5 separate regions of the Homo sapiens genome follow, and all the other regions are linked to region 4. The links are contacts of gene promoters, found by promoter capture Hi-C in blood cells and fetal thymus (Javierre and others, 2016). All regions are on one chromosome and are shown on one strand. The core of a region is centred on a gene start or on the middle of the fragment in contact, and the rest is flanking DNA. Distances in the headings are between cores, read along the strand shown.

The links. The method cuts DNA at HindIII sites, captures the fragments that hold promoters and counts their contacts. A CHiCAGO score of 5 or more calls a contact.
Region 1: a contact is called between the fragment with the promoter of RELB here and the fragment with the promoter of CKM in region 4, in 2 of 17 cell types (M2 macrophages and erythroblasts). The highest score is 8.4, in M2 macrophages.
Region 2: a contact is called between a fragment that was not itself captured here and the fragment with the promoter of CKM in region 4, in 5 of 17 cell types (endothelial precursors, M2 macrophages, erythroblasts and 2 more). The highest score is 5.6, in endothelial precursors.
Region 3: a fragment that was not itself captured here is called in contact with the fragment with the promoter of CKM in region 4 in 4 of 17 cell types (total B cells, M2 macrophages, fetal thymus and 1 more); the score reaches 5.8 in total B cells.
Region 5: a contact is called between a fragment that was not itself captured here and the fragment with the promoter of CKM in region 4, in 1 of 17 cell types (M0 macrophages). The highest score is 5.2, in M0 macrophages.

What each region holds. Positions count from the first base shown.
Region 1 is chr19:45,000,204-45,002,903 of GRCh38, forward strand. It overlaps RELB (RELB proto-oncogene, NF-kB subunit), which reads left to right and starts at 1,261. Exons shown (of 12, transcript NM_006509.4): 1 at 1,261-1,482. The coding sequence starts at 1,377. RefSeq lists silencers at 1,085-1,494, 1,815-2,094. The HindIII fragment of the contact is 31,053 bases long and covers 1-2,700 here.
Region 2 is chr19:45,040,995-45,043,694 of GRCh38, forward strand. All of the region lies in intron 2 of CLASRP (CLK4 associating serine/arginine rich protein), which reads left to right. Among named protein-coding and RNA genes, the nearest start is that of CLASRP, 3.3 kb to the left of the region's middle. The HindIII fragment of the contact is 4,283 bases long and covers 1-2,700 here.
Region 3 is chr19:44,836,135-44,838,834 of GRCh38, forward strand. No RefSeq gene overlaps it. Among named protein-coding and RNA genes, the nearest start is that of NECTIN2, 8.8 kb to the right of the region's middle. The HindIII fragment of the contact is 4,470 bases long and covers 1-2,700 here.
Region 4 is chr19:45,321,541-45,324,240 of GRCh38, forward strand. CKM (creatine kinase, M-type) reads right to left here and starts at 1,335. Exons shown (of 8, transcript NM_001824.5): 1 at 1,281-1,335. RefSeq lists an enhancer at 2,059-2,301. The HindIII fragment of the contact is 13,711 bases long and covers 1-2,700 here.
Region 5 is chr19:44,960,381-44,963,080 of GRCh38, forward strand. CLPTM1 (CLPTM1 regulator of GABA type A receptor forward trafficking) reads left to right here. Exons shown (of 14, transcript NM_001294.4): 2 at 1,583-1,695. Among named protein-coding and RNA genes, the nearest start is that of CLPTM1, 6.4 kb to the left of the region's middle. RefSeq lists an enhancer at 867-1,186 and a silencer at 1,353-1,506. The HindIII fragment of the contact is 5,952 bases long and covers 1-2,700 here.

The DNA.
Region 1 (2,700 bases), core at 11-2,510, 320 kb before region 4:
AGCAAAGGAAAGACAACAAACCCTGCATCTGTGGTCTGAGAGCGCCTGGCATCCAACTTAGAACCTAATAGATCACCTAGTCGTTCTCAGGAATATGAGAGGCTTAGGAATGTGATCTAGCCAAATGGCTGCCCCTCTTTCAGCCTGAGTCCCTTCTGCAATAATCCTATCATATGCTTCTGGCGCTGGTGATAGGGATGAGCTCAGGGTTTAGGCACACAGCTCAGGATGTATACGGAGGCTACACTGCTGCCATTCGCAGACTGAATAACTGAGCTTTTGAGCTCAAAGTGGTCTGGGCTATTTATGGGTAACTTTCAGGGGCTGCAGGGAGGAACAAACCAATAAATAAAACATCCATGCATTCATCCAATAAACTTTTTTTTTTTTGAGATGGGAGTCTCGCTCTGTTGCCCAGGCTGGAGTGCAGTGGCACGATCTCAGCTCACTGCAACCTCCGCCTCCCAGGTTCAAGCTATTCTCCTGCCTCAGCCTCCGGAGTAGCTGGCATTACAGGCGCACACCAACACGCCCAGCTAATTTTTGTATTTTTAGTAGAGATGGGATTTCACCATGTCGGTCAGGCTGGTCTCGAAATCCTGACCTCGTGATGTGCCTGCCTCGGCCTCCCAAAGTGCTGAGATTACAGGCATGAACCACCGCGCCCGGCCTCCAATAAACATTTATTGGGCACCTACGGTGTTCCAGGCGCTGGTCTAGGCGTTGGGGTTACAACAACGCACAAAACATAAATTCTGAAGCTGACACGCTAGCTTTAAACGTTCCTTAAATATCTTCATCCTCAATTTACGGTTGAGGAAACTGAGGTGTAGCGAGACCTTGGAGGTTTCCGAAATATTATTATGGATGGCAGGTGTAGAGCCCTGCCAACCTCTCGATCCTGAAGCTCCCCTTCCAGCCTGAGAAACGGCAGGTTCAAGTCCCACTGGGAGACCAAAGCGGGGAGCGGCTCAGTTTGCCGGCTTGCTCAATGGGTAAGGCGTGATGGCTCTAAGCAGGCCTCAGTTGTCTCGTCCAGAGCAATGGGCAGCGACGCCTGCCCAACCCCTCCTGAGCGCCCAGCCTCCCTTTCCCGGCCGGCCCCGCCCCCGCGATCACGTGACGCGTGGGGGTTTTCCCGTTCCCCAGGCGTGACGTCACGGCGGGGTGCAGACCAATGGGCGCGCAGGCCGGCGGCGCCGGGGAATTCCGCCGCCCCGCCCCCGCCCGCCGCCCGCCCGGCCCGGCCCCGCGCCCCGCGCAGCCCCGGGCGCCGCGCGTCCTGCCCGGCCTGCGGCCCCAGCCCTTGCGCCGCTCGTCCGACCCGCGATCGTCCACCAGACCGTGCCTCCCGGCCGCCCGGCCGGCCCGCGTGCATGCTTCGGTCTGGGCCAGCCTCTGGGCCGTCCGTCCCCACTGGCCGGGCCATGCCGAGTCGCCGCGTCGCCAGACCGCCGGCTGCGCCGGAGCTGGGGGCCTTAGGTAAGCGGGGCTGGGGTTCAGGAGAGGGGTCTGGGGCGGGGCTGGAGATGCGGGGATTCTGGCGGTCCCGGAGTAGTCTGGGGGTTCCTATGGGAGTCTAAGGGTTTCGCGGGGGCAGAGTGAGGGTTCCTGAGACACTGTATTAGGGCGTAGGAAGAAGGCAGAGGGTGATGAGGGGGTACGGCCCGAGGTTCGAGCGAGGCGTCCCGCTGTAGAGTGAGAGGGGGCGGGGCCTGACCCTGAGGCAAAGAAGGGGGCGTGGCCTGACTCAGAGAAGGCGGAGCGAAAGCTGCTCTTGGGCGGTATCGGGGCGGGGCCGGGCCCAGAGAGGGAGAAGAGGGGCGGGATCCGACCCGGACTATGAGAAGAGGGCCGGGCCTGACTCAAAAAAGGAAGCAGGGCCCTACGCTGAGGGGTGAGGGGGCGGGGCCTGGCCGTGAGGGCAGGAAGGGGGCGGGGCCTGAGTTGGCCGAAAGAAGGGGAAGGGGCGGGGCCTGACTCTGGCCGAGTGGAGGGGAAGGGCCTGTTACCCAAAAAAGCAGGGCGGGGCCCGACACAGAGAATGAGGAGGGGGTGGGGCTTGCCTCCAGACGGAGAAGCGGAGCCTTGACATTGAAAAAATTAAAAGTGGTCTGACCCTGACAGGAGGATGTTTTTTTTTGTTTGTTTTTTGTTTTTTTCTTTTGAGATGGAGTCTCGCTCTGTCGCCCAGGCTGGAGTGCAGTGGCACGATCTAGGCTCACTGCAACCTCTGCCTCCCGGGCTCAAGCAGTTCTCCTGCCTCAGCCCCCCGAGTAGCTGGAATTACAGGTGCCCGCCACCACACCCGGCTAATTTTTGTAGTTTTACTAGAGACGGGGTTTCACCATGCTGGTCAGACTGGCCTCGAACTTCTGACCTCAGGTGATCCGCACGCCTCGGCCTCTCAAAGTGCTGGGATTACAGGTGTGAGCCCTTGTGCCCAGCGGGATGGGGACTTTTTAAACTGAGATTGAGATGGGGTCCCCTCCAGGCCCAACTTTAAGGGAGAAAAGGAGCGGGCCCTGAGTGTGATGAAGGGTGGGGCGAACCACAGAAACTAAAGGCCAGGACCTGTCCATGATTTAGCTGGTAAGCCTGGCCAGACGCAGGGGGGCAGTCAGGGCGAGGGGCCTGATCCAGAGGGGAAGGGCTAGAAGAGGAAGGGGTGGGGCTTCCTTGGGATATTCTCTGGTCCTC
Region 2 (2,700 bases), core at 141-2,640, 280 kb before region 4:
GACAGATCACAAGGTCAAGAGATCGAGACCGTCCTGGCTAACACGGTGAAACCCCATCTCTATTAAAATACAAAAAATTAGCCAGGTGAGGTGGCGGGTGCCTGTAGTCCCAGCTACTCGGGAGGCTGAGGCAGGAGAATGGTGTGAACCGGGGAGGGGGGCAGAGCGGAGCCTGCAGTGAGCTGAGATAGCACCATTGCACTCCAGCCTGGGCGACAGCGAGACTCTGTCTCAAAAAAAAAAAAAAAAAGACTGTCTCAAAAAAAAAGGAGTGAATATTAAGTGAAACCTGACCACTTCCCTCTCCTGTCTGATGCTTCAGTTGTTTTTGCGGGGAAGACCAAACTATCCCTGGCCTAAAAGACCCTTGTGGTCTGACCACTCAGCTTCATACTCGGACAGCTCCACTGGCCTTCTATTTCTGCCACCACAGGGCTTTGGCCTATATTACCCCCCCTCACCTATTTAACTCCTGTGTATCCTTGGGATCCCAGCTTGAAATGGCACCTGTTTTCTAGGTTCAGTGTTCCTGTCAGATGACATTTATATAGACCTTTCCCAGTTATTCCTGTATTACTGCCCCAGCCTCCTCCCTGGTCTGCTGGCCTCCAGTCCTGGCTCCTCCAGTCTGTCCTTCCTAGAAGAGTCCAAGAGGCCTTTCTAAAGCACAAAACTGACCCTGTCCCTTCGTTGCTCAGAGCACCTCTATGCCTCCTAAGTGCCCTTGAGAGAAAGCCCAGGCTCCTCACTGTGGCCTTTAGGGTCCTGCATGGCCTGGCCTTTGCCCTTCCTCCAGACTCACACCACCCCACACTCTGCCTTGTTCCTTTGCACAAGTCATTTTGGCCTCCTTGCTATTCCTCCACTGACCCAAGCGCTCCCCAGCCACAGGACCTTTGTATGAGCTCTTCCCATACCTGGTTAACTACTGCTTATCTGTCAGATCTCAGTCCTCAGAGAAGTCTTGTTTCCCAAGCTCAGTCAGGTGTCCTCTAAAAATGCCATAATCATAGCTCCCTTTCCTTCCCCTTTGTGGAATTTAACACACTTAAGATACACATACATGGGCCTGGTGTGGTGGCTCACGCCTGTAATCCCAGCATTTTGGGGGCCAAGGCAGGTGGATCACCTCAGGTCAAGAGTTTGAGACCAGCCTGGCTAACATGATGAAACCTCGTCTCTACTAAAAATACAGAAATTAGCTGGAGGTGGTGAGGAGCCTGGGCTTTCTCTCAAGGGCACTTAGGAGCCATAGAGGTGCTCTGAGCAATGAAGGGACAGGGTCAGTTTTGTGCTTTAGAAAGGCCTCCTGGACTCTTCTAGGGAGGACAGACTGGAGGAGCCAGGACTGGAGGCCAGCAGACCAGGGAAGAGGCTGGGGCAGTAATACAGGAGTAAATGGTAATCCCAGCTACTCGGGAGGCTGAGGCAGGAGAATTGCTTGAACCCGGGAGGCATAGGTTGCATTGCTCTCCAGCCTGGGCAACAGAGTGAGACTCCATCTCAAAAAAAAAATTTATATATATATATATATGTGTGTGTATGTATGTATACACACACGCACACACATACGCATACACAGGTTGAACATCCCTAATTCAAAATCCGAAATGCTCCAAAATCTTTTTTTTTTTTTGAGGCAGAGTCTTGCTTAGTCGCCCAGGCTGGAGTGCAGTGGCATGATGTCAGCTCACTGTAACGTCCACCCCCCAGGTTCAAGCTATTCTCCTGCCTCACTCAACCTCCTGAGTAGCTGGAATTACAGGCATGTGCCACTATGCCTGGCTAATTTTTGCACTTTTGGTAGAGACAGGGTTTCACCATGTTGGTCAGGCTAGTCTTGAACTCCCGACCTCAAGTGATTTGCTTGCCTCGGCCTCCCAAAGTGCTGGGATTACAGGCGTGAGCCACCACGCCCGGCTAGCTCCAAAATCTGAAACTTTCTGCATACTGACATGATGCCCCACTATAAGTGGAAAGTTTCACATATAAGTACTTTACACAAACTTTGTTTCATGCACAAAATTATTTAAAATATTGTATACAATTACCTTCAGGCTGTGCTTATAAAGTATAAATGAATTTGGTCTTTGGACTTGGGTGCCATCCCTAAGATATCTCATTATGAATAGACAAATATTCCAAAATCTGAAAAAATCTGAAGCACCTCTGATCCCAAGCACTTCAGATAAGGAATACTTTGTGTGTGTGTGTGTGTGTGTGTGTGTGTGTGTGTGTGTGTCCCGTCTCTACTACAAATACAAAAAATTAGCTGGGCGTGGTGGTGGGCACCTGTACTCCCAGCTACTCGGGAGGCTGAGGCAGGAGAATGGCATGAACCCGGGAGACAGAGCTTGCAGTGAGCCGAGATAGTGCCACTGCACTCCAGCCTGGGCGACAGAGCGAGACTCCGTCCCAAAAAAAAAAAAAAAAAAAAAAATTTTTTCCATTCATACGTATATGCACATACCCAGCTCTGTGAGACTGGGGACTAATTATATTTGGGTCACGTTTGTACCCTAGGGTTGGGTCCATCAAATATGGTTTGAAAGAATAGATGAATAAAACAATATTAACAATAGTAATTAACCATTTAATTGATCCTTCGCAGGCACCCCCAGGCCATGTGAGAGATGCAGGATTTTTTTTGAATCCCCACAGTCACCTGTGAGACAGAGACCGCTCTTACTTCCACTCAGC
Region 3 (2,700 bases), core at 111-2,610, 490 kb before region 4:
GGAGACATCAATGAACAAACTTCACAACCCACCAGGCACAGTGGCTCACGCCTGTAATCCCAGCACTTTGGGAGCTCAAGGCGGGAAAATCACTTGAGGTCAGGAATTCAAGACCAGCCTGGGCAACACAGCAAGATCCCATCTCTACAAAAAAATTTTTAAATTAGCCAAACATGGTGGCACACACCTGCAGTCCCCACTACTCAGAGTGGGAGGATCGCTCAAGTCCAGAAAGTCAAAGCTGCAGCGAGCTATGATGGCATTACTGTACTCCAGGCTGGGAGACAGAGCAAGATCCTGTCTCCAAGACATAATAATAATAATAATAATTCACATCCTAATGGTGTTGCTGGACTCCAGTGGGGAAAGTGGTCAGTGGAATTCCTTAGAAGGTCCACAGACCTAGGAAGAGACTTCAGGAACTGCAACCAATCCCTGACTCTCTAGGGCCTGAGGAGGCACTTGGATGGGAACACCCTCCACCTCCCAAGAGAAGCAGTTGACTCCTCCACGAGGAAGCACTGGACAGCCAGGAGGTGCCTCTTGTTAACCAAAGTGGGCTGTTGACCTTGAACTCCAGCTCAGAGATCTTGTCCCTGGTCTTGTTCTCAAGACTCATCAGGTTCTCTCTTTCTCTGGACATGGAATCTAGATCTTCAATTTTGAAGCCAAATCTATGGGAGTAAAACAAAGAGATTTGATTAAAACAAAAGATGTTGTGCAAAACTCAAAAAATAAAACAGGCTGGGCGCTGTGGCTCAGGCCTGTAATCCCAGCACTTTGGAAGGCCAAGGCAGGAGGATCACTTGAGCCCAGGAGTTCGAGACCAGCCCTGGCAACAAACAGAGACTCTGTCTCTACAAAAAATGCAAAAATTAGCCTGATGTGGCGGTACACGCCTGTAGTCCCAGCTACTCGGGAGGCTGAGGTAGGGGGATCCCTTGAGCCTGGGAGGCTGAGGCTGCAGTGAGCCGTGATCCAGCCACTGCATTCCAGCCAGGGCAACAGAGCGAGATCCTGTCTCAAAAAATAAAATAACAGTAGTCCCAGCACTTTGGGAGGTCGAGGCAAGCAGATCACTTGAGGTCAGGAGTTCTCAACCAGCCTGGCCAACATGGTGAAACCCCATCTCTACTAAAAATACAAAAATTAGCCAGGGGTAGGGGGGCACACCTGTAATGCTAGCTACTGGGGATGCTGAGGCATGAGAATCACTTGAACCCGGGAGGCGGAGTTTGCAGTGAGCCAAGATCACGCCACTGCACTCCAGCCTGGGCAACAGGGCGAGACTCCGTCTCAAAACAACAACAAAAATAAACATGAGAAGCTAGATGACTGTAGCTGGCTGATCACCTGCTTGGCAGCCACAGCTTTTACCTGTGTCTTGGGCTTGGGACTCATGGAGCAGAGTGGGTGTCGCCCACAGGACGCATGAATGCTTGGAGCTTACTGGATCCCTGCATCCCTCCCATCTGTGTTCAGCTCACATTCTTAGTATGTCTAACAGGTCTCATGAGTTGCTTTTTTTTTTTTTTTGAGACGGAGTCTTGCTCAGTTGCCCAGGCTGGAGTGCAGTGGCGCGATCTCAGCTCACTGCAACCTCCGCCTCCCGGGTTCAACTGATTCTCCTGCCTCAGCCTTCCGAGTAGCTGGGATTACCGGCGGGTGCCACCACGCCTGGCTAATTTTTTGTATTTTTAGTAGAGACAAGATTTCACCGTGTTCGCCAGGATGGTCTCGATCTCCTGACCTCATGATCCGCCTGCCTCAGCCTCCCAAAGTGCTGGGATTACAGGTGTGAGCCACCACGCCCGGCTTGAGTTGCTTCTTAATATCCATCCTTCATTTCACCTGTCTGTGTCCTTATTTATAGGGCTCTTGTTCCCTATATAACAGAATTGAAAATTCCCTTTAAAAAAATACAGCAAATGCACACAGAGGATCAGAGGATGGAGGGGAGAATTTGATGAGATAACCAGGGAAGTATTTAGTACAAAGCCTGGCACAGAGTCCATGTGCAGTACATGTTAATTATTGTGATTATCTAAGGAAAAATAAAGAGACACAGAGAAAAGCAAAAAGGTTGCCTTAGGCCAGGTGCGGTGGCTCACACCTGTAATCCCAGCACTTTGGGAGGCCGAGGCAGGCAGATCACCTGAAGTCATGAGTTCGAGACCAGCCTGGCCAACATGGTGAAACCTTGTCTCTACAAAAAAAAAAAGACAAAAATTAGCTGGGCATGGTGGCACGCGCCTGTAATCCCAGCTACTCAGGAGGCTGAGACACAAGGATCACTTGAACCCAGGAGGCGGAGGTGGCAGCGAGCCGAGATCACACCACTGCACTCCAGCCTGGGTGACAGGGCGACACTCTGTCTCAAAAAAAAAAAAATAAAGGCCAGGTGCGGTGGCTCACGCCTGTAATCCCAGAACTTTGGGAGGCCGAGGCAGGCAGATCACCTGAGGTGAGGGGTTCGAGACCAGCCTGGCAAACATGATTTAGTAGAAACCCCGTCTCTACTAAAAATACAAAAATTAGCTGGGCGTGGTGGCAGGCACCTGTAATCCCAGCTACTCGGGAGGCTCAGGCAGGAGAATCGCTTGAACCCGGGAGGCGGAGGTTGCAGTGAGCCGAGATCACACCATTGTACGCTAGCCTGGGGGGACAAGAGCGAGACTTCGTCTCAAAAATAAATAAATA
Region 4 (2,700 bases), core at 85-2,584:
GCTTGGCCATGAGGTTGGCTGAGCACAGGCCCTGGCATGGAGTTGGAGCCTGGAACCCTGGTGGCTGCTATTATTGTTATTTGTTATTACTACTTTTTTGCAGAGATGGGGTCTCACTATGTTGCCCAGGCTGGTCTGGGACTCCTGGCCTCAAGTGATCCTCCAGCATCGGCCTCCCAAGATGCTGGGATTATGCGTGTGAGCCACTGCGCCAGGTCCTACTGTTATTATTATTTTATTCACTGGACCCAGAAAGGAGAAGGGACCCAGAAAGGAGAAGGGGCCTCCAGCAGCGGTGGGAGACGGGGATGGGAAGCAGGTGGGATTGTGGGAGGGAGATTGGGACCACGGTGAGCTGAAGCCAGGGAAGAGGAACAGGGACCCGCCAAAGACCTTGGGTGCTGCTGTCCAGGGTGGTTATTTTTAGAATCTGGCAACTGCCTGCCATCCCACCCCCAGCTGCTGCCCCGCCCCACCCCCACATTCCGGGGCTCGGCTTGCACCAAGTCAGCAGGCCCAAGACAGGTGGGCCAGGGTGGCTGGGAGGACACGGGTCCAGGCCTCGGGGCTCAAGGACATCCTGGGATGGCAGCCCAGACCCCCTCCCTTCAGAGGATGCCCCCCTAATCCCTGCCAGGGACACCCCAGGAGAGGGCACTGAGGCAGGGTGGTGACCCCCCCCACAAGAGACATAAGCAGAAAGCCCCAGAGCCACACACCCCCACCACCGCAGACTCCCCAGATCACACTGTAAACTAAGTCACACAGTCACACTTCCAAACTCAAGGACATGCCCAGGACACTCATGTGTCCGCTACTAAGTCAGAAACAAGGTCACAGGGACCCACACAGTAGCAAACGCAAAGAAAGCCTGCGACACCTGCTCTTGCAGACTCTGCTAGGCGACAGACACACCTCCCACGGCTTGTGGCGCCAGTGTTGGCGACAAACTGTAATGAACACAGGCCTGGCTCAACAGCCCCTTGCAGGGGGTGACAGTTGGCAGCTGTCAGGACCCCTTTCATCTCGGATCCCTCCCCATAACCCAAGACTTGTGCCGCAGAAATCACAGGTCCCAGTGGGGGGTTCAGGCAGCCTCACAGATGGAGGGGCCTCCCAGACACACAAGGGTCAACCTTCCCACGCACCGACCTGCCTTTGTATAGGAGGATGTTGGTGGAGCAAGGGGTGACACACAGACCCTTTCCCAAGCCAAGCCTCTAGCACCCACAGAAATCCCCTACTCTGGCCCCCACCCAGATTCCCGCCCCGTGCAGTACCTGGCTGGGCTGGGCTGAAGGGGGGCTGTCTGTATCCTGGAGGTGACACTGACCCAAAGGAAGGGCCAGCAGCCGTGGCCTTATATAGGGGGACCTAGGCTGTGCTATTGGCTGGGAGGGGTTGTCCCCAGGGAGGAGTTCTGGAGGGCAGCTGAGCCTCTCACCTCCCTGCTCCCGCACCATACCCACCCTGAACCCAGGCATGCTTTGCGCCCAGCCCCATGGCCTTGTATGGGCTGAGCCGCCCCAGGGGCTGGGCTCACGCCCCCCCACCAAGCTGATACCCTGACCAAGTGCTGAGTTGGGCTGGCGGTGGGGACAGCTGGCCCCCCGCCGGGAACATGGGACGGTGGCTGGGAACGTCCCAAGCACGTAGAAGCCACCGTCCCCTGGCCCCTGAGTCTCCTTCAGCCACCAGCCCTTCCTGTGGCCCTCGGCTCCCCCTGTGCCCCCTGGGCCCTCACCCCTACCCGAGTCCCAGCGGCACCTCGGGGAACCAAGGTGTGGCTCCAGGAGGAGCAGATACCCTGTGAGCTGGAGGAAGCAGAGGCCGGGAGAAGGACCAATTGCAATGGAGGGCAGTCTAACCCCAGAAACCCGCGCTTGGGCGCCCCTTCCTCCTAGGGACTGAGTGGAGGGGAAACTGAGGCTGGCTGAGTTGGAGAGATTCAAACTCAGGGCAAGGGTGGGAGGCGGTGGTCACCCTCCCCCCCACTTAACCCTCGCCCCCTCGGTGCCACTGGGAGATTTCCGCTGTGCGGGGGACAGGGAGGGTCTCGGTCGCCGGGAAAGGAGTTATTTTTAGAGGGCGCTTTGCTGTCTCCTCTGCCGCAAAGGCCGAGACCCGAGGCGCTGGGTATGGGGGGGTTCGGGGGCAGGTGTTGGAGGGGGGTTCGCCACGTGTCCTGGTTAATTATAACCGGGCGTCTCGGGTGTCCTCGGGCCTCGCCTCCTTACAAGGGCAGCCACGGGGCCCTGGGTGGCCGCTCCCACCTCCCGGGGAAGGGGGCTGGGCAGCGACGCCGTTCAGAGCGCGGGCGCCAGACTCGCGCAGATCTGGGCAGAGCAAGCGCTCTCGGCGCCTCGGCTGTGAGCAAGGACTTCCAGGGCTGAGAGGGGGGTTCTGTGGAGGAGAGTACAGTATAGAGGAAGCCGCTTTCTCCTCCTGGGACGCGCCAGGATTGCAGGCTGATCGGGTCTCCTCCTCCAGGGAGCTCCCAGGATTGCGACGAAGAAAAGAATGTCCCTTCCCTCTGAGTTCCTCCCTATCCCAGGGTCTCCTGGGTCTCCTTCACATCTTCTTAGGCAGGTGAGGACTGGCTTAGAGAAAGGGAGCCTCTGTGCCTCTCCCTCAGACTCCTGATCTGAGGGGGGAGGGGAGAGGGGTGCTTTAGAAATATTTACATGGGGCCCAGCCCTT
Region 5 (2,700 bases), core at 133-2,632, 360 kb before region 4:
GGCCCAGATTTCTGTCTAAAATGTTCCAGTATTTTCACAACCTGGTCCACAGGTCAGAGAGGTGAAGTGATGTGCCCAAGGTGTCACAGCCAAGAACGGTGGGACCAGGACTATAGCTGAGGTCTGTTTGACCCTGGAGCCCCTCCAATGGTGTCCTGTGCTTTGGGAGATTACAGGAAAGAGCTCTTGCTGGTGAAGGGGACAGGAGGTGACAAGTGACACATTTAACACATGTAGCCCCTCTAACCATGCTCCTGGGACATTTGCTATCTGGTGGGTAAGGTGAATGGAGAAAACATTGCAGAGGAGTGGACTAGGGGCTGTGGAGGAGAGGGCCAGACACTGGAGCCTCAGAGGGAAGTGGGTTTGGGTGACCTGAGCGTCCGGGGTGAGTCCTTCAGGCAGCGGTGGCCACACAGGTGTTTATCACAGCCTTGCTCTGTGCCACTGGTGCTCTTGAGCTAACTGTGACTGTGATAGCCCTGGTCCTGCCTCTTGAAGGCTGATGGCTGAGGGGACAGCTGGGAGGAGGGGTGAATGAGAACAGGACTGGGGAGCTAGCAGGGTGCGTGAAGGGTGAGCAGAACATCCCCTTCCAAACCTGGCATTCAGAGAGTCTCTGATTGTGACCTTCTGTGTCTGAGTGAAGAGTCCTCCTCTGGGAAGCCGTGCCTGGCTCCCTTGCCTGCCCCCCTTCCCTTCTGTCATTCTGCTTCTGCGGTCCTTCCTGAGTGACCAGACAAGTGGCTTCACCTCTCTGAGCCTCCCTTTGCTCAGCAGCCGGATGGAGCTGGTCATAGTTTTGGCCTCAGGATTAGTGTGCTGTGTGCTGTCACAGACATGTCTTGTGGCCGTGGCTTATGGTAGCAGCTGATAGTCTGGTTGTGTTTTTCTGTGTCTGTCCCACCTGCTGGACCAGGGGCCCTTGGAGGGCAGGGTTGGCCACAGAGGGGGCCTCAGGAATGGTTTGCCCAGGGAAGGCTCTTTCAGCTAAGCCCCAGCCTTGAAGAATCTGGCACCTGCCATAAGACTCCTTCTGTTGTTGTCCCCAATAGCCACCTCCTTGCATCCTGGCTCCAGCCCCAGGGAACAGTGGACAGTCATCAGAATCAGACTGTGCCTCTAATCTTCTGTTTCTGCACCTGCTGCTTCTCTCACTTCCTCCTTTGTGCCACCAACTTGCTATGTTTTAGGTCTCAGCTTCAATGCCCCCTTCTCCAGGAAGTTGCCCCGAACCCTAGACTGGACCAGGTGCCTCTCAGGGCTCCTGCATTCCTGCCCCGTTCTGGACAGTCACTGTCTAGAGATGAATCTTTCTCCCCCACCGGGCTGTTAAACCCCAGGAGGACAGCAAAAGACTCTCTAGGTCACCACTGTCCCTAGGTCACAGAGGTGCTCTGCGAGTGTTTTCCTCCTAAAAGAAGAGGACCGCACCTTCCCAGGTGTTTTCACTGATTCATTCTCCAGTTATTGATAAGCACCCACTCTTTGCCCAGCCTGTGCCTGGCCTTCATGCATGATGGTGTCTAAGACAGCCCCCGTGTCCATTCTCCCTCCTTACCCTGGCCTCTGTCCCCCACAGGTGACCAGCAATGGCAGCATCGGGAGGGACCCGCCAGCGGAGACCCAGCCTCAGAACCCACCGGCCCAGCCGGCACCCAATGCCTGGCAGGTCATCAAAGGTGTGCTGTTTAGGTGAGCAGACGGGACTTGGGTTTGTTCACCGAAAACATTCAAATAAAAATAAGGAAGAAAGGAAAAGTCAGCTGATCAGCTGAGGATGGTGATCATTACTGTATGGTAGAGTTGCTTTTTTTCTTTTTTTTTTTGTATGATGGAATGTTTTCTAAACCTTTTTTTTACTCTGGTAAAACATACTGAAGTAGGGAGTCTCCCTGAACCTGTTCTGGTTTTTGGGGGGCTACCTGATTTGTGAAAAAATAAAAACACAAAAAATACTGAAGTAGTTTGCTAGGGCCCTTGTATCAAGTAATATAGACGGAGTAGCTTAAACAACTGAAATAGGAAATTCATTGTCTTACAGTTCTGAAGGCTGGAAGTCCAGGATCCAGCTGTGGGCAGGGGCAGTTTCTTCTGTGGCTTCTCTCCTGGGCTTGCAGAAGGCCGTCTTCTCCCTGTGTCTTCATGTGGTCTTTCCTCTGTGTGTGTCTGTGTCCTAAGCTCCTCTTATGGGGACACTAGTCATACTGGCTTAGTACCCACCATAATGACCTCACTGAACCTTACTTTTTTACAGACCCTATCTGGGCCAGGCACAATGACTCACCCTCATAATCCCAGCATTTTGGGAGGCCAGGTTGGAAGGACTGCTTGAGCCCAGGAGTTTGAGACCAGCCTGGGCAACATAGTAAGACCCTGTCTCTACTAAAAATAAAAAAATCTGGCTGGGCACGGTGGCTTACACCTACAATCCCAGCACTTTGGGAGGCCGAGGCGGGTGGATCACGAGGTCAAGAGATCGAGACCATCCTGGCCAACATAGTGATACCCCATCTCTACTAAAAATAAAAAAATTCCGGAGGCTGAGACAGGAGAATGGCGTGAACCCGGGAGGCGGAGCTTGCAGAGAGCTGAGATCGCGCTACTGCACTCCAGCCTGGGCAACAGAGAAAGACTCCGTCTCAAAAAAAATAAAAAATACAAAAAAAATACAAAAATTAGCTGGGTGTGGTGGCACGT